Linked DNA regions of Homo sapiens: all the other regions are linked to region 1. Evidence: promoter capture Hi-C in 16 types of primary human blood cells and fetal thymus (Javierre and others, 2016). All regions are on one chromosome and are shown on one strand. The core of a region is centred on a gene start or on the middle of the fragment in contact, and the rest is flanking DNA. Distances in the headings are between cores, read along the strand shown.

Region 1 (4,499 bases), core at 1,236-3,735:
ATTCCAATCCTACCCTTCCTTCTACACTTTCCCCTTCTATATCTTTGAATCCATCTGAATATGGTCCACTATAATCAGCCCTAAACCTACTTTTCTACCTTCTAGTCCCATTTTTCCTCTAAACCAATGTATTTCAAACCACACACCATCAATTATTGTACTATGAAACCCAATAAATAGTTAACAACCATATTTTTTCTATTTTCAGAATAGAAAAGAACAGAAAAATAAAATGCACTGCATACAATAAGAAGAGTAAGTATTGTTTAGTGTTTTATATGTGTATATATTTCCATGTGCATGTGCACATATAGAAAATAAAAACAATTTCTTGGTGTGATAAACTGCTGAAAAAGTTTAAAATCTACTGTGATAAGCACTCCTTTTTCACTGGCTTCACTGGATTGCTGTCAACACATTTACTTTCCAGTTCTTTATGCCTTTAAGCATACAGCCTTTAAGTATACAGTTCACTCATCTTGGAAGACTTAACCCATCATTTAGCCCAGAGAATTCCTACCTATTCTTTAAAGCTTGTTTGTTCATTCATTCATTCATTCAAGAAAACTTTGTTGGATGTGAACTTGCCAAAGACAATTCTATGGAACCTTCTCCTAAATAACCCCAACTAGAAGTGACTGCTGTCTTCAAAAGCTATTGTAGAAAGCATTTCACATCAACTTATAGAAAGCATTTCACATCAACTTATCTGTTTAATCTCCTCTATTCAGACTAAGTTAACCTCCTTTGAGGTAGAAACCAGAGTCTTAGGAATTTTTTTAATCCTCAGATTGAACCACTTCACACCCTAGGTACTCCTTAGCCATTGTCTAAAAAAAAAAAAATTCACTAAAAATCCAACCACATGTAATTCTACCTATGCAAATTATTCGAAAGGGTAAAATACCAGAAACTCAGAATGTCATTTGATCAACATTTTATAAAGCTAATTAAATCATAAGACAAAAAAATTTTAAAACCAACCAATAGGCAGGGCGCCGTGGCTCACGCCTGTAATCCAAGCACTTTGGGAAGTGGAGGCGGGCAGATTATTTGAGGTCAGGAGTTCGAGACCAGCCTGACCAACACGGTGAAACCACATCTCTACTAAACTACATAAATTAGCCGGCCATGGTGGCGGGGGCCTGCAACCTCAGCTACTCAGGAGGCTGAGGCAAGAGAATCACTTGAACCCAGGAGGCAAAGATTGCAGTGAGCCAAGATCGCGCCACTGCACTCCAGCCTGGGCGACAGAGCAAGACTCCCTCTCAAAAATAAATAAATAAATACCAACCAACAAACTAAATTTCCCTAGTTTTTCATCGACTCTTCATAAAGCTTCCATTCAAAGAAACAAAATGAGTAGGGAAGTTGTAGCTCAAGGTTCTAATTCTAGAAGCGATGCACCAATGACAGTGACATCATTAAAAAGGCCCCTAATGACTGTTAGAGCCGTCTCTAGAAGTTTTCCTGAATGACTTAAACTGATAAAACTTCACATGGACCAACATTCCCAAACATTTCCCTTTAAAATACACTTCCGAAAAATCACACGCACCATCTATTTCTTAGATCTGTAAAGCTCACTCATTTCACCAACTCCTGAAGACCTCTCTAACACAGACTTTTATGACTCTTCCAAATTCACCAAATTTCTTTCCGGTCCTAACTTCAGGGTTGATTCCCTTTTCTCTTCTACAGGAATCACCCCCACCCCAACAATGAAAGGAGATGAAATAAACCAGGAGTTGCAAAGACCAGCGGAGATAGTTACATAGCAGCCTGGAAAAGAGAAAAAAAAAATAAAGAACAAAAAGAGGCGTCTACGGCACCAGACGGTGTGCTCCTTTGTGCACCTATGTTCAGGTATCCCTTGCGCACCAGTCCCACACTTCGCTGGTACACATACCTACTGATAAAAATTAACTGTAAAAGTCAGAAACTCCCACGGTACCTTTCCTTTGGGCTTCTCAAAAATTTTAAGTGATGAACTGCTCTAGAGCTCCGCCCCTTCTTTCCTTACCCTAAAAGTGCAACTTCTGCTCTAGAGAGAAACTTTCTTTTCCCCGAACACCCGTTTTATCCCATCCCCAGGGGAAACGGGGGGAGGGGTTAAGAAAGAGGTCGCCTGGGGGCGCCCAACTCTGCCCTGCCACCCCTGGGCCACAGCCATGCCGGACTTACCCCCAAACAACATAGTTGGTCTTCACATTCTTGGGCCAGGAGAACTCCCCGAAGATCACTTCGTCTCCCTTCACCACAATCTCCTTCTTCTGGATGTTGTACTGTCGCAGGACGCTAAGCACGTCCGCCATCTTCCCCCCCCTCGCCTCCGCCGGCTCGGGGCGCCGCCGCTGCCGCCGCGCCTGCCTCCTTCTTCTCTTGTCGCCTCGCCCTCTTCCTCCTCCTCCTTCGCCGCCGCGACGAACCAACAGCAGCAGCACTAACAGCCGTCCTCGCCTACGACAGCAGCAGGGGCAGTAGCCACCCAGGCCGCCGAGGACCCCGCGCTGTAAGGCAAGGCCCCGCCGCCGGCTGCCCGCGGAGAACGCCTGACTGCGCCCCTCCAGCGAGGCACATCCGCCGCCAGGGGGAGCCGCGACCGCCTGGAAAAGTGCCCCTCCCAGACTTCAGCTGGGCACGGAGCCCACTCACTCGCTGAAACGCTGAGCGCTGGGGCACCGCGCCCACGTACGGCGCACGTACGGGGAACTTTGCCGGGCGCGCGCGCGCGGAGCACGTACCCAGTACCCCGCGGCGCGCACCAAGCGGCGTCAGGTGCGCGCGTACCTGAGCAGTGGGTCAGCACTTCCATCCCCAGCACGTGCACTGAGTATTTAACGAACTGTCTCGGGTGCGACCAGAGGCTCCCCCGGGTCCCTGCTTTGGCCGGGATGGAATTCGGCAAGGATTTGCGGAACACTAGAATTACCTTCCTATTTAGATCGGACCCAGGCCTAGCCAAAGACCTCTAGGACTTAGTGATCCGGAGAAGCCCTTTTGAAAGAGTGGGGCTCTTGGGGTTGGGGTTGGGGTTTTTTGTTTGCTTTTGATGTGGAAAAGAACGAGTTTTGGTTTTTTGTTGGTTTTGAGTGGAAAAGACCGAGTCCAGAAAAAAAAAAAAACAGTTCTGGGCACTGCTCGTCAAGTTACATAGCTTCTCACAGCATCAATTGGTTAATGAAGAAAATGGGGTTAATACGAAGATAAGGTAAACGCGCCTAGCAAGTCAATAAAATATCCTAAATGTTGGATCCTCCCTCTTCATTCTTTGGATGATGACTTTTTCCATCGCGGTCCCTTCTCCCCGCCAATCCCGAAGGGCTATATTCAAAAGGCTGTGTTCCAAGATGTAAATGGGAAAGTTGCCCTAACAGAAACCCCAAACGGTCCAATTTAGAACACTTCCAGACTACCCAATTTTTTAAATGGTACTCAGAAGTCTCAGTGGTGTCCTTGACATGCGTTTTGAGACGGTTAAGATAAGTTCAATATACTATGGCCAACCAAACACATCCTATGGGATTGTTTTTTTTCTTTTACCATGTCAGAAGGAAAAAAGAGGCAACTTTGTGTTTGACATAACCAAATTCCTTGACCTGTTTTGAAAAAAGTCAATCTTTTCACAACGCAGAGGACTACAGATACAGAAGTGTGTGGTTCATTTCCGATATGATCTGTAGCCATTCTGCAACTGTTAGTTTGTGAAATTTTTTTCTGTTCCACCAATGTTTTCACCCCGTAGTATTCTCCTGAATCTCACCCCAAGCACACACATTATAAAGAAATGGCTACAATTACCTATCCCCACATTCTCTATTCATACCTGTGTCAGAGCACTCAGTACCATATTACTTCCCTTTATAGTTTATTTGCCTGCATCCACAAAACTGAAACACCATAGATCTGTGTCCTCATATCCTACTGTCTAACATTATTTGGTACATATTAGTAATAAATGGATGAATTCAATAAATTGATGGAAGCTCCTAGTAAATATCGAGTTAATACATGGATAGAGGCTTCTAATAAATGTTGAAGTAATGAATGGAAAGATAAGCTCAAGGAAGCCAAGATTTCATGATTAGGAGGCTCGACTATAGTCCCTTCAAACGATACTTAATTTTATTTCATACTCAAATAATGATTAAAGTCTCTCTTTTCAGAGAAATTATGTTTTTTAGGTTAATGAATTTTAAAAAGTGGTAAGATAAGTCATTAGTAAGTTGTTGCTTTTAACAGTTAAAGCATTGAAATTTGTAGATCATTTTTTTCCTGACCAGCCTGGGCAACATACCTAGACCCTGTGTCTACAGAAGCAATTGTAGATCATTTTTGTTTTTATCTAAGTACCCTTATAATTGCCCTACCAATACTGGTTCATTGGAGGATGTCAAAATACAATAAAAGGCAAGATTAGTGGTAGAGCTGAAAAATTAGAAAATTAATTAGAAAAAAACAGAAAAATAGTCTGGTTTCTTTGTCTTGGGCAAAAGCAG
Region 2 (4,499 bases), core at 1,060-3,559, 490 kb after region 1:
GAAATTGGAACTTTAGCATTTCCTTGTTATCACAGATGGAAAGCATCGTTTGCTTCTTTAGATGCGGAATGCTTTGAACATACAAGGCCCACTGATGTGCAGTTGCAAAGCTGAAGCCTGTTTCCAATCACCTAATCAACTCACTATCCCTTATTGTTTAGATAAGCCTGTCCTGTTCTGCCATGTGCAAAGTATATAAATTTTCTACTATAGAAGTACAGAACAAACATACTTGTGCCACATTTCCGGTTTTTTTTTTCTTATCACAGAAATTAAAATGGTTTTTCTGTAGATCACCATTGAAATACTTTTTGTCTTATTCTTGAAACAAATCTATCCTCAGGACTTACGTGGTGTCTGGTGATTGAGGGCAGTAGATGGCTAGGTAGTGAATCAGAGGCAGGGAACATTTTAAAAGAAATAGGTACCTCAGTCAGCTGATAGGAGAGACTAAAAGAGCGCAGAGCTCAGAATTAGCCTGCATTCCTTCTCCCTGCTTTACCAAAGGAGTCTCCCACTTTTCTCATTCATGCTTCAAATGCATATGTGGACATAGCATTCAGACTGATGTAGTAGATGCTCAATAAATATTCAAAGAATAGATGGATATAGTTTTTTTTTCCCAACAGGATTTATCCAAGCTAAAAACTACCCTAATGTTCATTTTAACCAATTTTCACTTAGATAAAAATTATAGGGTGAAGTTTGGGAAGGATTATATTGTACAAGCTTCCCATATCTCATACTTTCCTAAGAAGTAGTTCTGCCTCTCTGACTGTAACCTTTTTGTAACCTATAATTTGTGTAGTGGTTAATGAGATATATCTGGAGATGCTTTGTAAGTATAATTTACACAAATATATATTTTTATGAGGCATGCAAATTTAAACAATGGTGTCCTTGTGACTTAGTCAAACAAGGAACTAGAATAAAATACAAGGCAAATGTTTTTCTTTAGGATTATGACACTATATCTTAAAACCTCTGAAAGATATGATAATGCAAATAAGATTAGATAAAACAAGTTTAGTTTTGTAGAAAAGGCAAAGAATTTTAAAAATTGCAATCCCAGAAGCTTCAGAAACCTACTTTGGTATGCTTTCCTCCATACAAAAAGTGTTGTTTAATTCCCCCTCAAGTCTGAATATTTGAGGAGTTGCTTTAAGAACTGTAAAACTAGTGCATCAACTACATGCTTTTTGCAGATATGGAAAATATTTTCTTAAAACATTTTTACACAAAGGAAAAGTAATTTTGCCCAAAGAAAATAACATCCAAAGGAAAATGAAGAGTGATTGGTGTTATAAGAAATATAATCCTGGAGGCCTGGAACTACATAAGGCATCCTGAATGTACAGCGTGGGGCCAATAGAGATTACACAAATGATTTTTATAGATGAAGCTGAGCAAAGGGGCAGAATGGGAAGAAGAACAACGGGGACCGAGACACAAGAAGGATGACTTTTGTTTGAAAAAGAAAATGTTCAGGGCATTAAAAACACATGCCCTTTTTTTACCCCATAACATTTTCAAACACTACAGAAAATAATATCTAATAAACCGTGAAGCTTGTTTTAACTCTTTTAAAAACTTCCAAACAAAGGAACTTAGGAAAAATGGCATTCTAGTTATATTTTCCCCCAGATCAGTGGGAATTTATTTCATCTTATTGCTTTTCCAAGTGAGTAGGCAGAAAGTAAATAGAAATGTGAAATTTGTATCGATTGTTTGCTTTCCTTATAACCTTTGCCAAAGAGCTTTGTGAAGGCAACTTTTCTAATAAGGAAGGTATTTTTATATTTAAATGTTGGTTGTCTGTGTAGGAAGTGGAAGAGCTTGTTTCAGAGACTGCTTCTCCAACCCCATTTTAAAGCAGAAGTTCCATCACGGACATTTAGAGGTTAAAGGAAATTTAGATAATCTAGTTCAAAGCTTTCATGTAATGAAGAAAGAAATTGATCTCTTGTGCGTTGCCCTGAGCCACACAGTAGCTGAGATATAGCTGAGTCAAAAACTCAGGCTGCCTAACTCCTGCGTTCTGTGTACTTTAAGGTCCTCATTCCCTTTCTGGCTTACTTCTGGTTGAAAATCAGATAATTGTGTATATCTTACATTCTTATCTCAGTTTAGGTAACAGCCTAAAGTTTTTAGGCCCTTGTGTCTTTGTATCTATCTCCTCTTCTTCTTTCTCTACTAGAAAAACATGTGACAAGATGCTGTGGTTACACGAATTCTCCCCTACTCTTGCTTTATTTTATTCACTGTAATTTATTCCATGTTGAGACTCTGGTCTTTTCTCTTAAGTGGTATTAACATGGTTTCTATTTGAGTTGAGTAAATGGAATATTATGCTTCTGAATCTAATTTTTCTGCCTCAAATGATGCAATTTGAGCATCATTCTTTAAAGACACACGATATATGCTGCCTTCTTATAATGAAATATCTGAAAGAAAATATAGATTAAAGAATGATTATTATCATTGAAAATGATTTATTTTACAAAAGAATTCTATAGGAATTCCATTAGTTAATTCTTCTAGTTTAAATGTCTGAAATTCAGTTTATGCCCAGTATTCAAGTACATGACATAAAGCAAAATACATTGGCTTTATACATTTTATGAATTTGCTTTATGAATTTTATGCATATTGAATTTGATGATAATTAAAAAAACACCCAAGCTTTTCTAAACAAAGAACTCCAGCAGCTCAAAAACACTTGTTTTATCTGATAACATAAATAATAATGTACTTAATAATATATTTCTTATTATTTTATTTTCACTTTCTGCCAAGGCCCGGGGAAACATTTAAATTGCTTATGTGCATGTTTAGAAATACACCGGAAAATCAAACATGCCTAAGAAAAAGGGGTCAAAAAACTATTGTGAAACAGTGGTAACTAAGGAATATTCCACTTAGATCTGTTCCAAGTCAAGCAGTGTTCCAAAGGGACCAAAGGGACCATGTGGCTTTATTTTTAGGCTGCAGTTCATTGACTCAGGCTGTCACTTCTGCTAATTGGCATAGCTGCTCTTAGCCTACAGATGTTTTATAGGGCCTAGATAATGGGAAATTAAACGTTTTATCTGTCACTCTGGAAAAAATAAACTGATTACTCTGTCAAGAAGACCTTGCCCAGGGTCAAGCTTTATTCTAAGGTGGACCACAAGCAAAATTATTTGAAGATACTGAGATTCACACAGTCCACACACACAGGGATTCCCTTGGCCAATAGGTGATGCATTAGTCAATAAAAATGCAACAGAGATTTTGGAGGCCATACTTGAAATGGGAATGTGAGGATTAGAAGACCTTCCAGGTACAATCAGTCTAGTGAATTAATTAGTAGGTAGCTTGGTCTCTGAGAGGTTGAGACATGAGACTATCAAATGGCAACAGCCCATGATATAAACCAATGGAGACAAAGGATTGGCAAAAAATCACTGGAGGTTGCTGTGGGAGAGAGGAAACACTTCATGATTGATGAAGACACCATGGTACACATGTTTAGAAGGGTTTAGAACTCAGGAATAAGAGAGACTGGTCTAGCTTCATGTGCATGTGACATGTCCCATGGTAACACAGGGCCAGAATTTGGTTTTAGGGCTCTGTTGTCACTGTCTTAATATTCTTGATTTTGAAACAAAGGACCTTTCATTTTCATTTTGCATTGGGCATCACAAATTATTTAGCTAGTTTTGCTGGAAGGGGACATAAAGCTAAGGGATAGATACCAGAAGAGAAATTTTGTGTACATTTTAATTTGGGTTGTGGAAAATTGTATTCTCTATTAAAGGGTTTAGAGGAGTGCATTCAAATAATACTCCTAACAGTTGGATAAACTGTCATGAGGGCATTTGGCTGTGAAGTTGCAATGAGTGGAGAGGCATTGACATTGTTGCTGATGGTGACGTTCCTGGGTGAGTAAAGGACAGTGTTGAGATTCACAAGCCAGGAGTAATGAGGTGGTGGTGAGGGAGGCAGAGTCAGGGCTGGGGTCTCAGAAGCCTACTGCACAGCAGTAGCAGCTGGGTGAGAAATCTCTAACAAGGGTCACTGAAGTTGCTTGGGCAATTGCAGTTGATCTAATTAGGAGGCTTGATGAGTAAATAGAATTTAGAGAGTTGCACTGTCCTTGTTCACTGGCACTGAAGACAAAGTCACTTGGCTGTCAGTGTTCCAGATTAGTTATCAGAATGATTTTCCATACTAGCTTTCCTCTAACAACAAACAGCTTTAATGTGATAGTATCTGTCAAGTGCTCTCTGGGTCCCTGAGAGATAGGCTCTTTATCAGTTGCTACAGTAGCCTATTCTTTCAACAGAAATAAGTCAATTTGGAGTCCTGCAGAGTTGCCTAGGAAGATATGGTTTGGAGTTTAGGAGTTCAAGTGTTCTAGTTTGTAGTTCTCTAGAGAAATAAATATAGTAGCTCCTCCTCCCCAGAAAAGCTATAGTATATTATCTAGTTATATTTATTTCCTGACAAAATTAAGG
Region 3 (4,499 bases), core at 1,434-3,933, 420 kb after region 1:
GGGGTATTATTTAATATACAGATAACTGAACTAAGTGGACCCGACTGACCACTATAGGCAAGATTCTTTTGCAAAGAAGGAGAAAACTGATGACCGGTATGAATAGTTCAAAAACCAAAGACTGGAGTCAGATATGCTTCAGTTGAATTCCACATTTTCCATTTAAGAGATTAGACAATATTCTTAAATTCTCTGAGACGTCATTTTTCTATCTATAAACTGAATGTAATACTGCCTCTCTCTGATGATTATTGTAAGGTTATAAAAATTTTTGAAGGTGTCTTACATAGAACTGAACACAGTAGGCACATGATAAGTATTAAGTTCTTTTGTCCTTCCCTTTTCTTTTGAAAAATGCCATATTATCTAAAAGGAAATTTTCTCCTTTTGGGGCAGGGGGTGTATAGCTTTGCTGAAGCACTGTAAAGTGTTTGATATAATCATAGAAAAAAGGAGAAGTAGAACTATTTCAGTTGGAAAACTAAAGGAGTGAGATAATCAATGGACATAATTTATATTTACAAAAATCCTGATAGTTAATAAAGATCTTCACACATATATGGACTTTCCTAATATATATAATTCAGTTTGGAAAGTGCTTTTTGTCCTGTTAAAAAACTTTTGAGATAAAATAAATATGAAGGTCATATCTTAATAAAGTATTGCTAAATTTTTATCTCAATTGTATTTTAGAGAAAACTAAAATCTTACATGTTATAAACTAGACTCAGGTAGAATCTCTTTTAAATAATTTAACACACATTTATAAATATGCACAGATATATCACTACATTTTCACTGTGCTTTATTTATCATTAATTTGTTATAACTTCTACTATGTTTATTGAGCCTTTTTGAGAACAGCCACTGTTCACCTAACTGTATTTTGCCAACATTTACTTATGATGTTCTTGATTTAATATGATAGGGTTTATTTTTAGGGACTAAAGAGAGTTAGAAAAAAAAAGAGTTAGTAGTTCACAGAAAAATCATCACCTTTATATACCCTTTGCCTATTACACACAGGTTTATATCTGCTTTGTAAAAGAACACTCACACAATACTTGTTAAGAACCTTGTCTTTGGCTGGATGCGGTGGCTGATGCCTGTAATCCCAGCACTATGGGAGGCTGAGGCAGGTGGATCGCTTGAGCCCAAGAGTTCGAGACCAGCCCGGGCGACATGGCGAAACTCCGTCTCTACTAAAAATATAAAAATTAGCTGAACGTGGTGGCATGCGCCTGTGGTCGCAGCTACTCAGGAGGCTGAGGTGGGAGGACTGCTTGAGCCCAGGAGGCGAAGTTGCAGCCCAGATTGCATCACTGCACTGCAGCCTGGGTGACACAGCAAAAAAAAAAAAAGCTCTGTTTTATGTGGTCTTTGGTCTTTCAAAAATTGCAGGATGGCTCATATTGACCCAGGTGAGCATTTTTTTTTTTTTTTTTTTTGCCAGTCTGATAACATAATTTCTGTGACTATTTTAAAGAACAGCTGACTTTAGTACACTGTTTTAATACTTTGCTTCTCTTAACAGGAGCCATTAAGTTGTGAGAAATTTTAGTACTCGAGTTGTGTTGAATTTTTTTAGTTTTCTTCATAGCATAAAACTTCTCCTGAAAAGGAAGAGGTCAATATGGACATCACAGTGGACAATTTCTTGGAAGGATGATTTAGGCTTATTATGAAGCTTATTAGGCTTATTATGAAGCTTATTAGGCTTATTATGAATTAAAACTTATTATTAAGTATTAATGTAAATTCTCATAGGGCCAGGCAGATAACATAAATGAGATAAGTAGGAAGAATGAGAAAGTGTAATACCCTAGAGCTGTGAGGTCTACAGAAATCTGTAGCCCACATTTACGTGGTCCAAATAAATCACTTCTGAGAGCTTCATTTGCTTTTTGAAATTCTTGGTGCTGTCTTGTCTTAAAGCATGGGTCACATTTGAGTAGCGCAGTGGAGAAGGTATCTTCTAAGACTGGGGACCACTATAAGTAAAATTAAGAAAGAAAAATATCCTGGTAAGTGGGGTTGGCTTTAGGGGGTCAGCCACACTGTAGGGCAATAATGTTCAACAAGGGGTGATTTTAAGAGCATGTGATACTTGTCAATGTCTGTAGACGTTTTGCTTATCACAACTGGGGAGGGATGCTACTGGCATCTCATGGATAGACACCAGCAGTGTGCTAACACCTTATAATGCACAGGTCATCCCTTCACAACAGAGGATTATCCAGTCCAAAAGATCAGTAGTGCCCAGATTGAGAAACTCTGCTCTAGATGAATGTGTGTGTTGGGAAATAGGGGGAGGTAAAGTTAGATATTATATTCTGCAGTTTTTGGAGTTTTTTGAGACAGATCTCACTCTTTTGCCCAGGCTGGAGTACAGTGGTACGATCTTGGCTAACCACAACCTTAATTAACTTCCCTGGCTCAAGTGATTCTCCCCTCTTCAGCCCAAGTAGCTGGGAATACAGGCTCATGCCACCATGCCCAGCTATTTTTTTTTTTTTTTTTGAGATGAAGTCTTGCTCTGTCGCCCATGCTGGAGTGCCTTGGCTCGATCTCAGCACACTGCAACCTCCGCCTCCTGGGTTCAAGTGACTCTCCTGCCTCAGCCTCCCAAGCAGCTGGGATTACAGGCACGTGCCACCACACTTGGCCAATTTTTTTTTTTTTTTTGTATTTTTAGTAGAGACGTAGTTTCACCATGTTGGCCAGGCTGGTCTTGAACTCCTGACCTCAAGTGATCCACCTGCCTCAGCCTCCCAAAATGCTGGGACTACAGGCGTGAGCCACTGTGCCTGGGTAATTTTTGGATTTTTTGTAGAGACAGGGTTTTTGCTATGTTGCCCAGGCTGGTCTTGAACTCTTAAGTTCAAGAAAACTACCCGCCTCAGTTTCCCAGAGTGCCGGCATTACAGGTGTGAGCCACCGTGCCTGGCCTGCAGTTTACTATTAAAACACCCAGCATAGAAGGTGGTAGTCAACTTAATCTATACTTTAAAGTCCGTTAGTTAACATGTTAGGTACCTTAATCAGGAATATGCACTCCAGGGATGATTAGTTAGTACATGAAAATTTCTAAGTAGAGGCCCAAAGACCAGAGGCCTGGGCATTCAGAAGGTTTCAATGTCTTTATTTTAATTAATATCAGTTGCCTTATTAATTAGTATAATGGGTGTTAGATATTACTTTTAATCTGTGAAATGAGGGCTGATCAGGCTAGAAATTTGTATGGGCTTGGGAACTGGTGCTTAAACAAGACAGAGCAATCTAGTAAGCCCAAGAAATTACATCCTTTGGAAAGGCATCATAGGTTAGAATTCTGAATCTTTCCTGTGTTCTGTTGTTTATCAGAGGATATTGTTGTGAAACCCTGAACAGAAGGATAGTTAAATTCCTCTATTAGAATCTGCTTCAGGTGAATTTTCCACACAGGCCACTATCTTAGTCCATTCAATTAAAGTATATTAGACGAAAATACTGTAAATTGGGTAGCTTATAAAGAACAGAACTTATTTCTCACAGTTCTGGAGTCTGAGTGGTACAAGATCAAGGTGCTGACAGATTTGGCATCTGGTGAGGGCCCCGTTTCTCACGGATGGTGCCTTCATCCTGTGTCCTCACGTGGTGGGAGGAGCAAGGAAGCTTTCTGGGGTCTCTTTTATATAAGCACCAATCTCACCTATGAGGGCTTTGCCTAAGGCCTTACTGACTCCCAAAAGGCCCCACTTCCTAATGCCATCACCTTAGGGGTTAGGATTTCAACATATGAATTTTGTGGGGCGCAAACATTCAAACCAGAGCAACCACTGTTGGGACACCTGAAAAGCTAAGAGAGATGAGCCTTCATGGAGCTTAAAGAACTGGTGGTATGGCAATTTAGGGGTAAAGTGACTATTTGCATAAGTAGCAGAGTCAGCTCTGAGTCTTGCTTTCACATTGGTGTATTCTGAGTGGCCAGGCTGTGGGAGAGAAGACCCACAGGATACATCTTCTTCTAACCATTGGTTACAGCTGAAAGCTACCAAAATGAATCCAATACTTGTGAATTAACAATGTTCTTAGTTTAGTTTAGTGCATTCAGTCTACAAAAAACCTCGAAAGAGGGGTAGAAGAATGTGTATAAGCCAGGAAGTTGATATGATGGGAATTTGGAGCAGGGAATACTTTATTACTTATGTTTAAGATTAAGAAGAGGGAAAACGAAGGGGTAAGAAAAGCAGTGAGAAAACTGTTAAAATAAAAGGTGTGAGGTGACAAAAGTCACGATTCTGTTGGAGTCAGGAGCAATTGAGGAGAGACAAATTGGAGAGATGTGTTGAAGGAATGGTAATAACAATATAGCTAAAATTTATAGTTCTCTATTTTTTCGTTACTATGCTACACTCATTTCATGCATTTTCTCACTTAAATCTCAGAACAATTGTACAAGTTAGATACTATTGTTACCTCTATTTCATAGGTGAGAAAAATCAAGCACCAAAAATGTA
Region 4 (4,499 bases), core at 1,222-3,721, 400 kb after region 1:
GTTTCACTATTATTGCCCAGGCTGGAGTAACAATGGTGCAATCTCTGCAACCTTTGCCTCCTGGGTTCAAGTGATTCTCCTGACTCAGCCTCTTGAGTCGCTGGGATTACAGGTGCCCTCCACTACGCCTGGCTAATTTTTGTATTTTTAAGTAGAGACAGGGTTTCACCATGTTGGCCAGGCTGATCTCGAACTCCTGACCTCAGGTGATCCACCTCCTTGGCCTCCCAAAGTGCTGGGATTACAGGCGTGAGACACCATGCCTGGTGGTGCAGTTTCTGCTCTTTTTGCAGCTGTCAAGAATAACCAGCATCAACCCTGGGATATGAACAAGTAACTCTGAAGATGCTGAAGCTTAAAGGGCTAAGAGAGTTGGAGCCTGAAGAAAAGAAGGTTTCTTTTCATTGGAACACATAAGTGCTCAGTGTTTCATTTGGAATATCATATGATACTGTTTCCCAACTTTATGAAAACTAGATGTTTTGGCTGTATTTCTAAACTTTATAACTGTTATATAAAATGTGTATCTATTTTACCTATGGGGAAACTTAGATTAAGCAAGGTGAAATGATTTACCCTTTGCTGGTAAGTAGTAAAGCCAGACTTGAAATCAGCAGCTACAAAGCCAGGCTTTTGCTACCATACTGTCTGTTATTTACCTGTTTTTTCTCTTCATACATATGTTTGGTGTGTTAGAATAAGACATTGAAAAAACAAAAAACCAAAAAAGAAAATGAGAATTTTCACACCTGCAACTTGAGATCCAAATCCCTGGCCCAGAAAACATTTTCATATTAAGCTAATTCTGTATTCTCTTATGTCATTTTTCTGTGAAATACAACTGTAATCAGTAAAATTTAGAAATTAAATACTCCTTTCCAGGAAATGCTGGAAGATAATATTTACAGAAAGTGGGAAACAACAAGATTATATTATATCATATTACATTATAGATAGATGGCTGAAATGCCAATTTGTTACTTTAAAAATATCCTTAAATGGCAATTTTTTACAATGCAGCATTACAACTCTTGGGGTCATTGGTAAGAATAAAGAGTTCTTAGGAGAACATCATGCAATGATATGGTTGGTAACAGAGACGTGTTATAGAGGGAATGAAAATGTTCTAAGAAAATTGACAGCAATATTTTACATTTGTACAACACAATTTTCAAATGTATGCATGGTTTGAAAATAAATATATACTTGAAATATATATATATTTGAAAATAAATTAAATATGATTTATTATATTTAATTTGGTCAACAACCAGGTACAGTAGTAGGACAAGTACTATAACGTTCACCTTTTAAGATAGGGAAGTTGAGGTACAGCGAGGTCAGGTGCTTTTACTCAATGTCACTCATCAAGTTAATGATAAACTGGGATTAGAATTTGAACTTTCGGTCTTTCAGTCTCATGCTCTTTTCATAATCTGGAATTTGTTACATTATTTTTTTCACAAAAAATATGAATGAGCCTCTGTAGGTTTCATTGTGTTAGAATTTTGCAAAACATTTGAGCATGCTGTTAATTTGGAAAGGGTTATGGTAATCTTTAAGCAGAGAGTGCCGTGATTCTTGAGTTCATCATTTGTATATGTTGCAGTTTGGGGAGAGGGTCAGACATGCGATTATGTAGTGTCTTAGGAGGAATTTGGCTTGGCCTTAATTCTCAGTCATGAAGCTACAGTGACTCAGGGATCTGCTGGAACAATGACATGGAATTTACTCATCAATGGGCCATTAAAAATTAGACACACATAGCTGGGTGCCGTGGCATGCTGTAGTTCCAGCTAGTTGGGAGGCAGAGGCAGGAGGATTACTTGATCCAGGAGTTCCAGTCTGTAATAGGCTGTGATCACATCTGTGAATATCCATAGCACTCCCGCCTGGGCAACAAAGTGAGACCCCTACCTCTAAAAAAAAGATAGACAAGTAACTGATATTTTAGTGTATTTATTATAGGTTGAACAGTATACAATATTTTTCCCTATTTTAATTATTGTTATAATTTAGTAAGATTTAAGTATCACACCTCATGTAAAGGAGAAAGAGCTTCTATTGAATTAATGCCAGAATAATTATGATGTTGAAATTAAACTGGTACATAAGTGAATGATTGTCTTGGTAAGCACAGGGCTCATATTGTCTATTATTTAAACAATAGAGGGCTTTTCAAAGCTGATTTATTAAAAATACGCTGCAAAAATTGATTTAGGATACCACTTAAAATACAAATGTTTTCTCTGATTTTTGAGAAAAGCATTATTGAATGCATCGTTTCTCCCACTATGACTGAGCATCCTGAAGCATTCTGTTAGCTCCAGTACACACAGAAGAAAGCAGTTGCTTTTGCCCCTTAGAGTTCCTCCATAGACAGTACACTTTGGTATTTGTTTAAAAGAACCAAATTAGTTAAGAATCATGCAGATTTTGCCTCCTCTAGTTTGCCAATTTAATCACATACAACATAACTTGAGTTGTACATCTTGTATTCCATAGATTTTATGGCAAGACTTGTAGAATAAAAATGAAAAAGATACATGAGGGAGAAACATTGTGCTGTTTCAGTCACTTTACTAATGGTTTTATGTGGGCAATTTCATTTAATCTTCAGAACAATTCCATTATGGTCCTCATTTTCCCATACATTTGGAAGAACCAAGGTATGGAGACTAAAGAGCTTCCTCATGGTCACAGAACTGGTCATTTTCTGAGCCAGGATTTGAACTGGGCAGCCGGACTCCAGAGGATGGCTTTGTACCCAGGCCTGTGCAAGCGTAAGCCCTTCAATTGTACACTATTTGGATACTTTCTTGGAGTGTGGAAAGGAGGGTACACTGGGCCACAGTCTTAATATACATTCTGGAGAATGTCATTGTAAAAGTTAGTGAAATTATCAAGCTGGGAATTTACTCTCTATTTTTTTTTTCTTGTGGGGATTTAATCGACAATAGAAAGCAACAACTTTATGAAGTTTTTCAACAGGAACTCTGACCATAACTCTATAATAAACTTGTGAGAAACAGCCATGGTATAAGTTGACACCAGCTTGAATACGTTTTGGATCGTTGTCTGGTTCTGAGGAATAAGCCCCATTTGTCAGTGTGTGCCTCAAGAGGTGCGCATGGCAGCTTGGTGTCCATACGGCATCCATTCACAGGGAGGATTAGAAAACAATTTTGGGCCGGGCGTGGTGGCTCACGCCTGTAATCCCAGCACTTTGGGAGGCCAAGGCGGGCAGATCACGAGGTCAAGAGATCGAGAATATACTGACCAACATGGTGAAACCCCGTCTCTACTAAAAATACAAAAAATTAGCCGGGCGTGGTGGCGGGCGCCTGTAGTCCCAGATACGCGTGAGGCTGAGGCAGGAGAATGGCATGAACCCGGGAGGCAGAGCTTGCAGTGAGCCGAGATCGTGCCACTGCACTCCAGCCTGGGTGACAGAGCGAGACTCCGTCTAAAAAAAAAAAAATTTTTTTTGGAACAATATCAAGTGTTGTCATGAATAGACTCTTCAATCTTTCCGAGCAGAAGTGAAGCTCAAAGAATAATTTAGCTCCCCTAATATTACGTCAAGACTGGTTCAATGTCGAACTGAGTTGGTTGGTAGGAATTAAAACCATGCAGTGTTTATGATAAAATGCATATTGTTGAGAGCTGACCCTTTTAGCACCTATTTGTGAGATCTAAATTTCTTGTGTGTGTTATTTATGTGGAGAGAATAAAAGGAGTAGAATAGGAGACGTAGATACTCTATTCTGACAAGTTCACTCTGTTCTGGCTCCTTGCAATGCCTGAAGCAGAGATTCCAAATGTGGTTGTTTATGATACAGCCTGACTGGGTACCAGGAAGCATTTTCAAATAGTACTCTATTATTTCTTATTTCCTGAAAACAGATGCCTTATTTGAGACATATATTTAGATATCATTGTTATTTTATTTTCCTTCAAAGGAAATAATTAAAATTCAGTCTATTTTTGGATCTGGAGTGTCATTGTAATTCACATTCGCTAATTTTGGCAAGCAGTCTCCTACTGTTATGATTTTCCATTTCCTTACTTGGTACTTTCTGACATGAGAAACAGAGGGAAAGTTTTGATATTAAGTAAATGTGTTCTTCAGTCACATGTACAGCAGCAAATAATCAGTGGAACTTTTAGATAAATGAAGGCTTCATAATCGGACTTGACTTGATCTACTATAACAGATGAAAAATGAAGCAATATAAGGGTAAATACCAAAGATGGGTCAACTTTTAGTCCGTAACAAAGAACTTCTTCCCATGTTTTGGGGAACATGTGATATTTTGGGGAAGGCTGTCTGGTTTCTGGCTTATTACCTTACGGGCATGATAAAAAAAATCAGGGGAAAAACCAGATATTAATCACAAGTGACACTATTCATAGGTCATTTGGAATTATTTTCCATTATTGATTTGGAATTAGTGATGATATTTAGTTCAGCATTTTTATTACATTACTTTCTCTGT
Region 5 (4,499 bases), core at 649-3,148, 350 kb after region 1:
TATGACTCCATCTCTATCTCACAATCTGCAGCAGCCTGTTTTTTTTCCTTTTTTCCCCCATCACCAGATATCCCTTTGGACCCCCAGGGTTATCTACTTAGTCTAATGAGACTGTCCCAAGTTTCTATCTCCAGAAAATTGAGAGAATTGGCTGAATGGCATCATTCTGAGTTGCTATTGCAAATGTTGCTGCTCTTGGTGTTACATCTGAAACCTAGGTGAGTCTGGGCAGACCAGAGCAAATGTCCTTTCACTGAGACTGTGGCCAATCCACACAGTAGTTCCTCAGAGGGCTGCATCAGGGTAGAAAGTCATTAGCCACAGTCTGTGATAGAACCAGATGTTTCTTACTAGATTTCTACAAACAGGAACACAATCTCACCCTAAAAGCACTGCTAAAGGAGACTCCAACATTCAGACAAGGTAAGCCCAGTAATCCACAGGATATTTTCCAACATCTTGCCCCACTGGCTAGTATACCAGAGGTAAAGAAATTTACTACATCTCTGACCACCCTCAGAGACCTGGAACACTTGGCTCTTCCTACCCTCTTCTGTCCCAGTGCATTACTTTAGGAAGAGTCCAACTTGATTGTTACTTTTCCTTTGAAAGCATCTGAAAAAAGAGAATGCTTATTGATAGTCACCTTTCAGATTTAGTCAATTTGTTAGAGTGAGAACTCAGTTTGCTGCACATGTTTCACACACTATTAGACAACAGCAGGGTAGCCACTGGAAGTACAAAGGGAAGATCTACCAAACCCATTTTGGCTTATTTTAATGCAACAATTAATAAGCCTTAGTTTTAAAACAAAAGATGAGTCTGAGACAAATGCTCAAGTGCAAATGCAAAAGTGAATAGGACATCAGAACAACAGGCAAAAACCTGGACCACTCAGGGAAACTGGGATGTAAACTCCCTCTAAGGAAAAGGGTCCTGGTGATATCCAGGAAAGAAAAAGAAGGTCAATATTGCTAAAATGCGTTGAGCAATGGTTAGAGCAGAAGGAGATGAGATCACAGAGGTGGGGATGAGCCAGATAGTGCAGGGCTTCTAGGCAATGGTAAAGGTTGTGGATTTTATTCTAGTTATAATGGAAAGTAATGGGAGGATGTTCACCAGGGAAGCAACATGATCTAATTTGCATTTTGTAAGCAAGTCAGCTTGCTTATGAAGTTCTATATTCTACACGAAAGCAAACTGATTCTTGCTTTTGTGTAGAATATAGAATTTTTGGTAAAAGAATGATGGATGGGCAAACAGAAGGAAATTTCAGCAGCCCAAGGTAAAGATGATAATGGCTTAGACTACCATGATAAAGAATGGAAAGAAATGGTTAGATCTAGGATATATTTTGGGGCTGCTGATGAGATTAATTTGGGGTGTGAGAAAAAAGGTAACCATTAGGTTTCCAGCTTGAGCAACTGGGTAAGCTATTGTGTCATTTGCTGATGAAGGGAAGATGGTGGAAGAACATATATGGCAGGGAAGCAACAATTCTGTTTTGGACATATTAAAATAGAAATGAATGCCATTTTTAGACAGAGAATTCAAGGGAGAGGCTGGAGCTGTAAATATAGATTTTTGAGAATGAATATAAAGGTTGTATCTAAAGATGTGAAGAATGAACTCACAAAGAGCAATTAGTTAGGCAAGAACACCAGAACAATGTGATGCTACAAAAGAAGAAAATTCTTCAAAGGGAAGGGAGTATTATAGTAGCTGTGTGCTGCTGAGGGCTTAAGGGCGGAGAAGTGACATTGGATTGGACACGATGGAGATTGTTGATGATCTTGCTTAGAACAGTTTCTGTGGAATGGTGGGGACAAAGTCCAGTTAGATCAAATTGAGGAGAGAATAGGAAGTGAGAAAATGGAGAGTATGACTTTAGACATCACTTTGGATGTTTCTCTTGGAAAGGAAGCAGAGAAATTAGGTTGTAGCTGCAAAGGAGGTGTGAACAAGGGAACATCTCTTTCTCCATTCATTCATTCATCCATCCATCCATCCATTCAACTATTTATCCATCCATTCTTCCATTAGGTATAATAATCCAATTGACAGATAGGCGGTAATTATATACATCAAGTCCTTGAAAAAGTCATAGGGGATCCAGAGCACAAGGGGACAATCATCTATGAGCAGGAATACCTCATCTATTGGGAGAGGAGGAGGAAAGGTAGAATTTACTAGTAGGAAAGATATATTTAATGGTAGAAAAATGAGGGCGTTCCCATTGCATTCTTTCTCCTTGCTTAATGAGGTATGAGGTCATTAGCAAATACTGAGAGGGATAGTCAGGAGTGTCATATATTTGAGAAGGAAGAAAAATGTGTGAAATAGTAATTTGGATAGTAGGGGAACAAATATACCAGAAAAGTGTAGTGCAATGCCCACCAGTGTTGAATGTCCATTTAAGATTTGAGGTCATGAATGTAACAATGGAATTTTTAGCTTTATTGTGTGTTTTCTTCATTTCTGAGTTAGATGCAGAATATGCAAGATGCTGTATTTAAATAGGGCCAGGGCTGGGCGCCGTGGCTCGCGCCTAAATCCCAGCACTTTGGGAGGCCAAGGTGGGTGGATCACCAGGGGTCAGGAGTTTGAGACCAGCCTGGTCAACATGGTGAAACCCTGTTTCTACTAAAAATACAAAAATGAGCGAGGCATGTTGGTGGGCACCTGCAATCCCAGCTACTCGGGAGGCTGAGGCAGGCGACTTGCTTGAACACAGTGAGCCGAGATCACACCATTGCATTCCAGCCTGCAGCCTGGGCAACAGAGTGAGACTGTCTCAAAAAAAGAAAAAAAAAAAAAAAAGGCCAGCATTTTTGCTGAGTCCTACAGAGTGAAGAAGGTGTATAAGAGCAGTGGCAGCATTGGCAATATTTACAATCAGCAGCCTGTGGTAATAATAAACAGCATTTGGACTTTTAGTTGGTTTTATTATTGTTTTAAAATTCTCTTTAGGCAATATACCCTTTATTGCCTTCACCTGAGAAGGATGACTCCTACTATGAACCCTCCCTGGGCCACTATAAGGGAGTCACGAGAGAATGGAAAGGAGCGTTATGTTGACTAACATGGAATCCAAAGAGATGAATAAATCTTCTACCTCCAAAGGCCATTTCTTAATTAAAAAAAAATCCTTTCACATTAGTTACCCCTCATACTTATAATGCTATCTAAGAAATATTATCTCCATTTTACAAATAAGGAATGGAGGAGGTTCACAGATGTCATGTAAATTGCTTGGGCCAGTGGATGAGCACTAGGCATGGTTGTAAAAATCTAGACTCTTTTCATCCATGGCTTTTGTGCTTTTCTCTCCACTGGGGTACCTTTCCTCAGTGGAGGAAGTCCTTTCATTTTTCTCACGTCAAAAAGCCAAAGGCTATCATAGGAGAATTTATGATTACTATCAGGATTGTTGGTTAAATATAAGAATGTGAGGCTGGTAAATATAGTTTATTTATATAAATACACAGTAGGAGACTTTATCTCTTTAATATGTGATCCAGAAAATAGAATTTGTAAAGCTGATGATGAACATTTTACATCTACTCAGGGTTACAAGACAATCAGTTCCATGTGGCCCTTTCTGATGCCATTTCACCTCCTTCCCCTTAAGAGATGGTGTTTAGCATGTATGTATGTGTCTGTGTGTGTGTGTGTGTGTGTACAGCAGGTAGCATCTGCAAAACTTCATTGTACACTGTGAAGCAATGAATGTGGAAAAGCAAAACAATCTTAGTATTATGAAAATAGTTTTGATCTTGTAGATTCCCTGAAAGAAGAGTCTTAGGAAGCCTCTAGGGTTCTTCAGGCCACACATATATCCTAGAACCACTGCTCTAAGATACATATTGAATGGAATTTTGTGGTTGTATGTGAAGGACTGAATGATATACCATCCCGAAATATGCTGGGTTAATATATTGACTACGTTGAGTTGAAAACATTGGAGAAATGATAGTTTCAGAAAGGTCTAGCTGACCTGTCTCTTCCTGCAGGCAGCAAGCCATAAAGATTCCTCTGGGAGGAGTACCCTCCCAGTACCAGAGCTAGAAAATAGCCCTTATCGCCAGAGACTGGGAACTGGCGGCCTACAGTGAACCTGAATATAGTTACTGTCCCTAGCCAGATTTCCTTTGTCCTGTCATTTCTTCTAAAATTTATCATTATTTGTCTAAAAAGTATAGAAGCATCTTTTTTTGGCCACTTCTTTGGACTTTACTCTTTTGTGAAGTCCCCATGTACATGCAAAACTAATAAAATGTGTATGCTTTTGTTTTGTTAATCTGCCTGGTGTCAGTTTGGTTTATAGATTCAGCTGAAGGGCCCATGTAAGAGCTTAAAGATGGTTAGAGGTGATCTCTGACTCCCCTAATTATGGTGAGTACATCTTTCACACACTTCCAAACTTTTCCAAAGTGCTTGTGTCAACTTAAGCTCCCATCAGTAGTTTGTTAGAGTTCCCAGTTCTCTACATTTTCACA
Region 6 (4,499 bases), core at 743-3,242, 300 kb after region 1:
TTATTTGCTTTCAAGAAGACTTTGCTATGGAGTAGGGCTACATGGGTTAAAGATTTATGAGATTGCACTCAAGATTTTTATCTTTTTGTATTTTTGAACTCTGGCTAACTAAAGATATTACCATTAGTCACTGGCAGATCACTCTGGAATTTATCTGAATCCATTTTATTTCTAGGGTTATACTCTCCAGACTGTTGCCCCAGGACGTGTTTACCTTGGCCTTTTGAATGTGGGTAAGGAAGTGGAGGAGGGAAATGGCATTTTTGTGACTGGACCTGGAAACTTTGTGTCACTCATTAACATATCTATGAGGTAGCAACATGCATGACATCTGTGCCAGATGGTCTGTGAAATAGAGAAAATGTGCATACATTTTGTTGTCCAAATTCAGATTAGTAGTAGTAGATAAGTAAGAAGATACTAGAAATGTTACAGCCCAAGAAATAACTAGTAATAGTTGTTTTAAATAATCTAAGAATGCTTTTTTTAATTAAAATAGAAATACGCAAACATGAGGTATTTGATAAATCCTAAATATACCATTTTTCTGCAGTATAGACTTATTTGTTCATTTAGTAACATTGATTAGGCATCTGCCATGTGCTTTATACTCTGCTAAACACTGAAAATAAAAGGAAAAAATGAAACATAGTTCATTTCCTCTGAGGAATTCACCATCTAATGAAAGAGTAGATACACATTTAAATGCAAAATGGGTGAATAGTCCCTCTCATGTCCTGGTGTATGAGTTTTCCCTGCTGCTTCACCACTTGCCACCAGGATGACAAACACCTGTATCTCCTGTCAGAGTGGAAGGCATGCCTATGAATATTCTGGGCCATTGAAAGGGGATTTCCAATGTAGTGGAAATTAAGAAGGGGCTATCCTGGGGAATGGAAAGCCCATACCCAAAGTGATGGATGAATGGTTAACTTTACTTCTCAAGTGGGGTGACAGGTGGTGATCTCTGAGTTTTGAGGATGGTTTGTAGGCTTGGGCCACCAAGGCAACAGCCTTGCAAGACAATAAGACAATAGATGGCTCCCTACTCCTCTCCAAGTCATCAATCTAGCTCTAGTTACTCTTCTCCATGTGACCCTCGGGGGGTTAGAGAGGGTACCTGGAAGTTAGAAAGCCAACGTGTGCTCTAAAGAAGGGAGTTGTGCCCATTGCTTCATCTTGGAATATAATTCTTTGCTGCTTCTTTCTGGTCTCAAGCTTTTAATATTTTTCTCTAAAATGGCTCATGGTGGTTCCATGCCATGGACCTTGATGGCTATGTGGTGATTCTCAGAAAATTGTTTGTAAATGCATAAACAAAATTTATGGGATTGCAAAGGAAACCAGTTATACTGAAATATAGTAATCAAACTATTAAAAATGGTAATAGAGAAGACTTCTACTTTTTGGAAGATGGAATAGACATATCTTTCCTTATTTCTCCCACTAATTTCAACTAAAAACCCTGCATATTATGTATGAAACAAATATTAAAAACTCAAGAAAATGTAGAGAGGTAGAAGGACTGGTTGGAGACTTTGGGTCCCAATGAATGATATGGTGGTAAGTTCCTTAGACTGTCTTTTTGCCTTATATTTCTCAGACTTGGAGCCAAAAAACTGGCAATCCACAATAGCCCAGGAAAACAGAAAAAAAAGTCCCCGAAGAAAAGTCTTTTTTCTTCAGCCAAAGAACTAGGAAAGGGGAAGCCTAGCAAGACAGATACTTTTAAACAATAAATGTCCACCTCCACCTAAGCCAGTAAAGGCTGAGTGGGGAGTATAATCTTCTACCTTTGTCAAGCTGTAAGACACATGACCATCAGTGGCAACCTGCTGGGAAGCTGAAATTCTCACCCCTGTCAAAAAGTAAAAAGGAGAATCTCTTCCTATTGGGTATCAATAAAGGCCAAACAAACCTGGACTTATATCCCACCTGAAAAAATAAGGCAGCATCCCCCTTCTGCTGAAGTAGCATCAAATGAAGCCAGCTAAAACAGAAGTTTAAATATGATCCAAGGTCTCATCATAAAATACTCAAAAATTTCAAGTTTTAATAGAAAATCACTTGGCATATTAAGAACAAAGAAAATATCAAGTTGAATGAAACAAGACAATCAGTAGATGCCAACACTGACATGATAAAGATATTAGAATTATATGACAAAGATTTCAAAGAAGCCATTATAAAAATACTTTAATAAACAAATACAAACATACTTAAAACAAATGAAAAAATAGAAAATGTAAGCAAAGAAATAGGAAGTCTCAACAAAGACGTAGAAGAGATAAGCAACCAAATGGGAAAATGGGAACTGAAAAATACAATAACTTACATAAAAATACTTGATGAATGGACCTAACATCAGAATAGATGAAACAGAGGAAGCAGTTAGTAACATTGAAGATAAGGTAGAAATTACCCAATCTGAAAAAAAGAGAAAATAGACTGAAAAAATATACAAAGCCTCAGAGACCTCTGAGACTACAGCAAAAAAAATCCTAACAATTTTGTCACTAGACTTCTGAAAGGAAAGGAAAAAGAGAGTGGGTCTGGAAAAGAACCAAAAAAATTAATGGCTGAAAACTTCCAAAGTTGGCAAGAGAGCTAAACCTACATATTCAAGGAGGCAAGTAAATCTCAAAAAGGATAAACTCAGAAATCTACATTAAGACACCTCATGATCACACTTCTAAAACTAAAGACAAAGGAAAACATCCAAAAATATTTTGGACCTAGGGCTAGACAAAGAGTTCTTAAGCTTGACATTAGAAGCATGATTCATACAAGGAAAAATTAATAAATTGGAGTTCACTGAAATTAAAAACTTTTGCTCTGTTAAAAGGATAAAGAAACAAGCTATAGGTTGGGCAGAAAATGCAAACCACATATCTGATGAAGGACTTGTATGTAGAAAATATAAAAAACACTCAAGTCTCAACAGTAAAATAAATAATCCAATTAGAAAATGGACAAAAGATATGAACAGACATATCACCATTAACACAAACTGCTCTGAGGATGGGCAAAACCTCGATCACTCATAAATACATTGCTGGTGAGAATGTAAAATGGTACAGAGCCACTCTGAAAAAGTTTGGTGGTTTTCTCATAAAACTAAATATGCAACTAGTGTATGACCTAGCCATTGTACTCCCGGGCAGTTATTCCAGAGAAGTGGAAACTTATGTTGACACGGCAACATGTACATGAAAGTTTATAATAGTTTAATTTGTAATAGCCAAAACTGAGGCAGTCCAGATGTTTTTCAATGGGTTAAACAACCTGTAGTATAGTCACACTATGGAATACTAGTCAGCAGTAAAAGGAACAAGCCACTGATACATGCAACATCTTGAATGAATCTCCAGAGAGTTGTGCTGAGTGGAAAGGTCATCACAAAATGTTACATACTGTAGGATTCCATATCAATAACATCTGAGAAATGACAAAATTGTAGAAATGGAGAGGAGATTAGTGGTTGCCAGGGTTTAAGGATGGTATGGGATGGGAGGGAAGTATGTGAGGCTATAAAAGTGCAACACATGGGATCCTTGTGGTGATGAAAATGTTCTGTATATCTTGACCATATCAGTATTAAGATCCTAGTTCTGATATTTTACTATAGTTTTTCAAGATGTTATCACCTGGGAAAAGTGAGTAGCGAGTACGCAGGATCTATCTTTTTTTTTTTTTTTTGCAACTGCCTGAGAATCTACAATTATTTCAAAATAAAACATTTAATTAAAAAACTATGATAGAGCAATATACTGTTTGTACTTTATTAACACTTTAAACAAGATTTATTTTCAGATCTAGTTACTATTGAAGGTTGGAAATAACAATCTTTAACAATTGTAATGTGAAAAGATCTGAAAATTCTGTTTGTGGTAGTCACATGTACTGCTACTGCTGCTTCTTTCTCTCACTCTCTCTTTCCTTCTTTTCTTTTCTCCTTTCTTTTCTTCCTTCCTTCCTTCCTTTCTTTCTTTCATTGAGATAGAGTCTCGCTCTGTTGCCCAGGCTGGAGTGCAGTGGTGTGATCTTGGCTCACTGCAACCTCCACCGCCTGGGTTCAAGGGATTCTTGTGCCTCAGCCTCCCTAATAGCTGGGTTTACCGGTGCGCACTACCACGCCTGGCTAATTATTTTTTATTTTTTGTTTTTTGGAGTTTTACTAGAGATGGGGTTTCACCATATTGGTCAGGCTGGTCTTGAACTCTGGACCTCAGGTAATGCACCCGCCTCGGCCTCCCAAAGTGCTGGGATTACAGGCGTGAGCCACTGCACCTGGCCTGGCTTATTTCTTAGACTCACAAAGGAAGAAAATGCTACATTTAATTAGGGGTTAGAAAAAAGAATGTGTAATTTTTTTCTTATCCAAGGGCAGAGACCACTAAAAGGTCTATGGACAGGTCCAGAACTCCTTCCCTAGAGCCTATATTTTAAATGTTAAAAAATAACAAACAGGCTGGGTGCGGTGGCTCACGCCTGTAATC

The links. The method cuts DNA at HindIII sites, captures the fragments that hold promoters and counts their contacts. A CHiCAGO score of 5 or more calls a contact.
Region 2: a contact is called between a fragment that was not itself captured here and the fragment with the promoter of CDC73 in region 1, in 1 of 17 cell types (total B cells). The highest score is 5.0, in total B cells.
Region 3: a contact is called between a fragment that was not itself captured here and the fragment with the promoter of CDC73 in region 1, in 1 of 17 cell types (neutrophils). The highest score is 9.6, in neutrophils.
Region 4: a contact is called between a fragment that was not itself captured here and the fragment with the promoter of CDC73 in region 1, in 1 of 17 cell types (neutrophils). The highest score is 6.2, in neutrophils.
Region 5: a contact is called between a fragment that was not itself captured here and the fragment with the promoter of CDC73 in region 1, in 1 of 17 cell types (neutrophils). The highest score is 8.0, in neutrophils.
Region 6: a fragment that was not itself captured here is called in contact with the fragment with the promoter of CDC73 in region 1 in 1 of 17 cell types (neutrophils); the score reaches 5.9 in neutrophils.

The regions. Positions count from the first base shown.
Region 1 is chr1:193,120,017-193,124,515 of GRCh38, reverse strand. It overlaps CDC73 (cell division cycle 73), which reads right to left and starts at 2,485. Exons shown (of 17, transcript NM_024529.5): 1 at 2,185-2,485. The coding sequence starts at 2,315. RefSeq lists enhancers at 2,048-2,097, 1,697-2,341, 2,368-2,437, 2,342-2,988 and a silencer at 2,598-2,677. The HindIII fragment of the contact is 13,310 bases long and covers 1,341-4,499 here.
Region 2 is chr1:192,628,311-192,632,809 of GRCh38, reverse strand. The region is part of intron 1 of LOC107985241 (a long non-coding RNA gene); the gene reads right to left. It overlaps LOC105371664 (a long non-coding RNA gene), which reads left to right and starts at 3,777. Exons shown (of 5, transcript XR_002958418.2): 1 at 3,777-3,923. The HindIII fragment of the contact is 750 bases long and covers 1,935-2,684 here.
Region 3 is chr1:192,695,723-192,700,221 of GRCh38, reverse strand. No RefSeq gene overlaps it. Among named protein-coding and RNA genes, the nearest start is that of MIR4426, 18 kb to the left of the region's middle. The HindIII fragment of the contact is 1,946 bases long and covers 1,711-3,656 here.
Region 4 is chr1:192,722,108-192,726,606 of GRCh38, reverse strand. No RefSeq gene overlaps it. Among named protein-coding and RNA genes, the nearest start is that of MIR4426, 8.0 kb to the right of the region's middle. The HindIII fragment of the contact is 4,229 bases long and covers 357-4,499 here.
Region 5 is chr1:192,771,117-192,775,615 of GRCh38, reverse strand. All of the region lies in intron 1 of LOC105371665 (a long non-coding RNA gene), which reads left to right. Among named protein-coding and RNA genes, the nearest start is that of RGS2, 36 kb to the left of the region's middle. The HindIII fragment of the contact is 5,622 bases long and covers 1-4,499 here.
Region 6 is chr1:192,822,638-192,827,136 of GRCh38, reverse strand. No RefSeq gene overlaps it. Among named protein-coding and RNA genes, the nearest start is that of RGS2, 16 kb to the right of the region's middle. RefSeq lists an enhancer at 1-555. The HindIII fragment of the contact is 1,543 bases long and covers 1,221-2,763 here.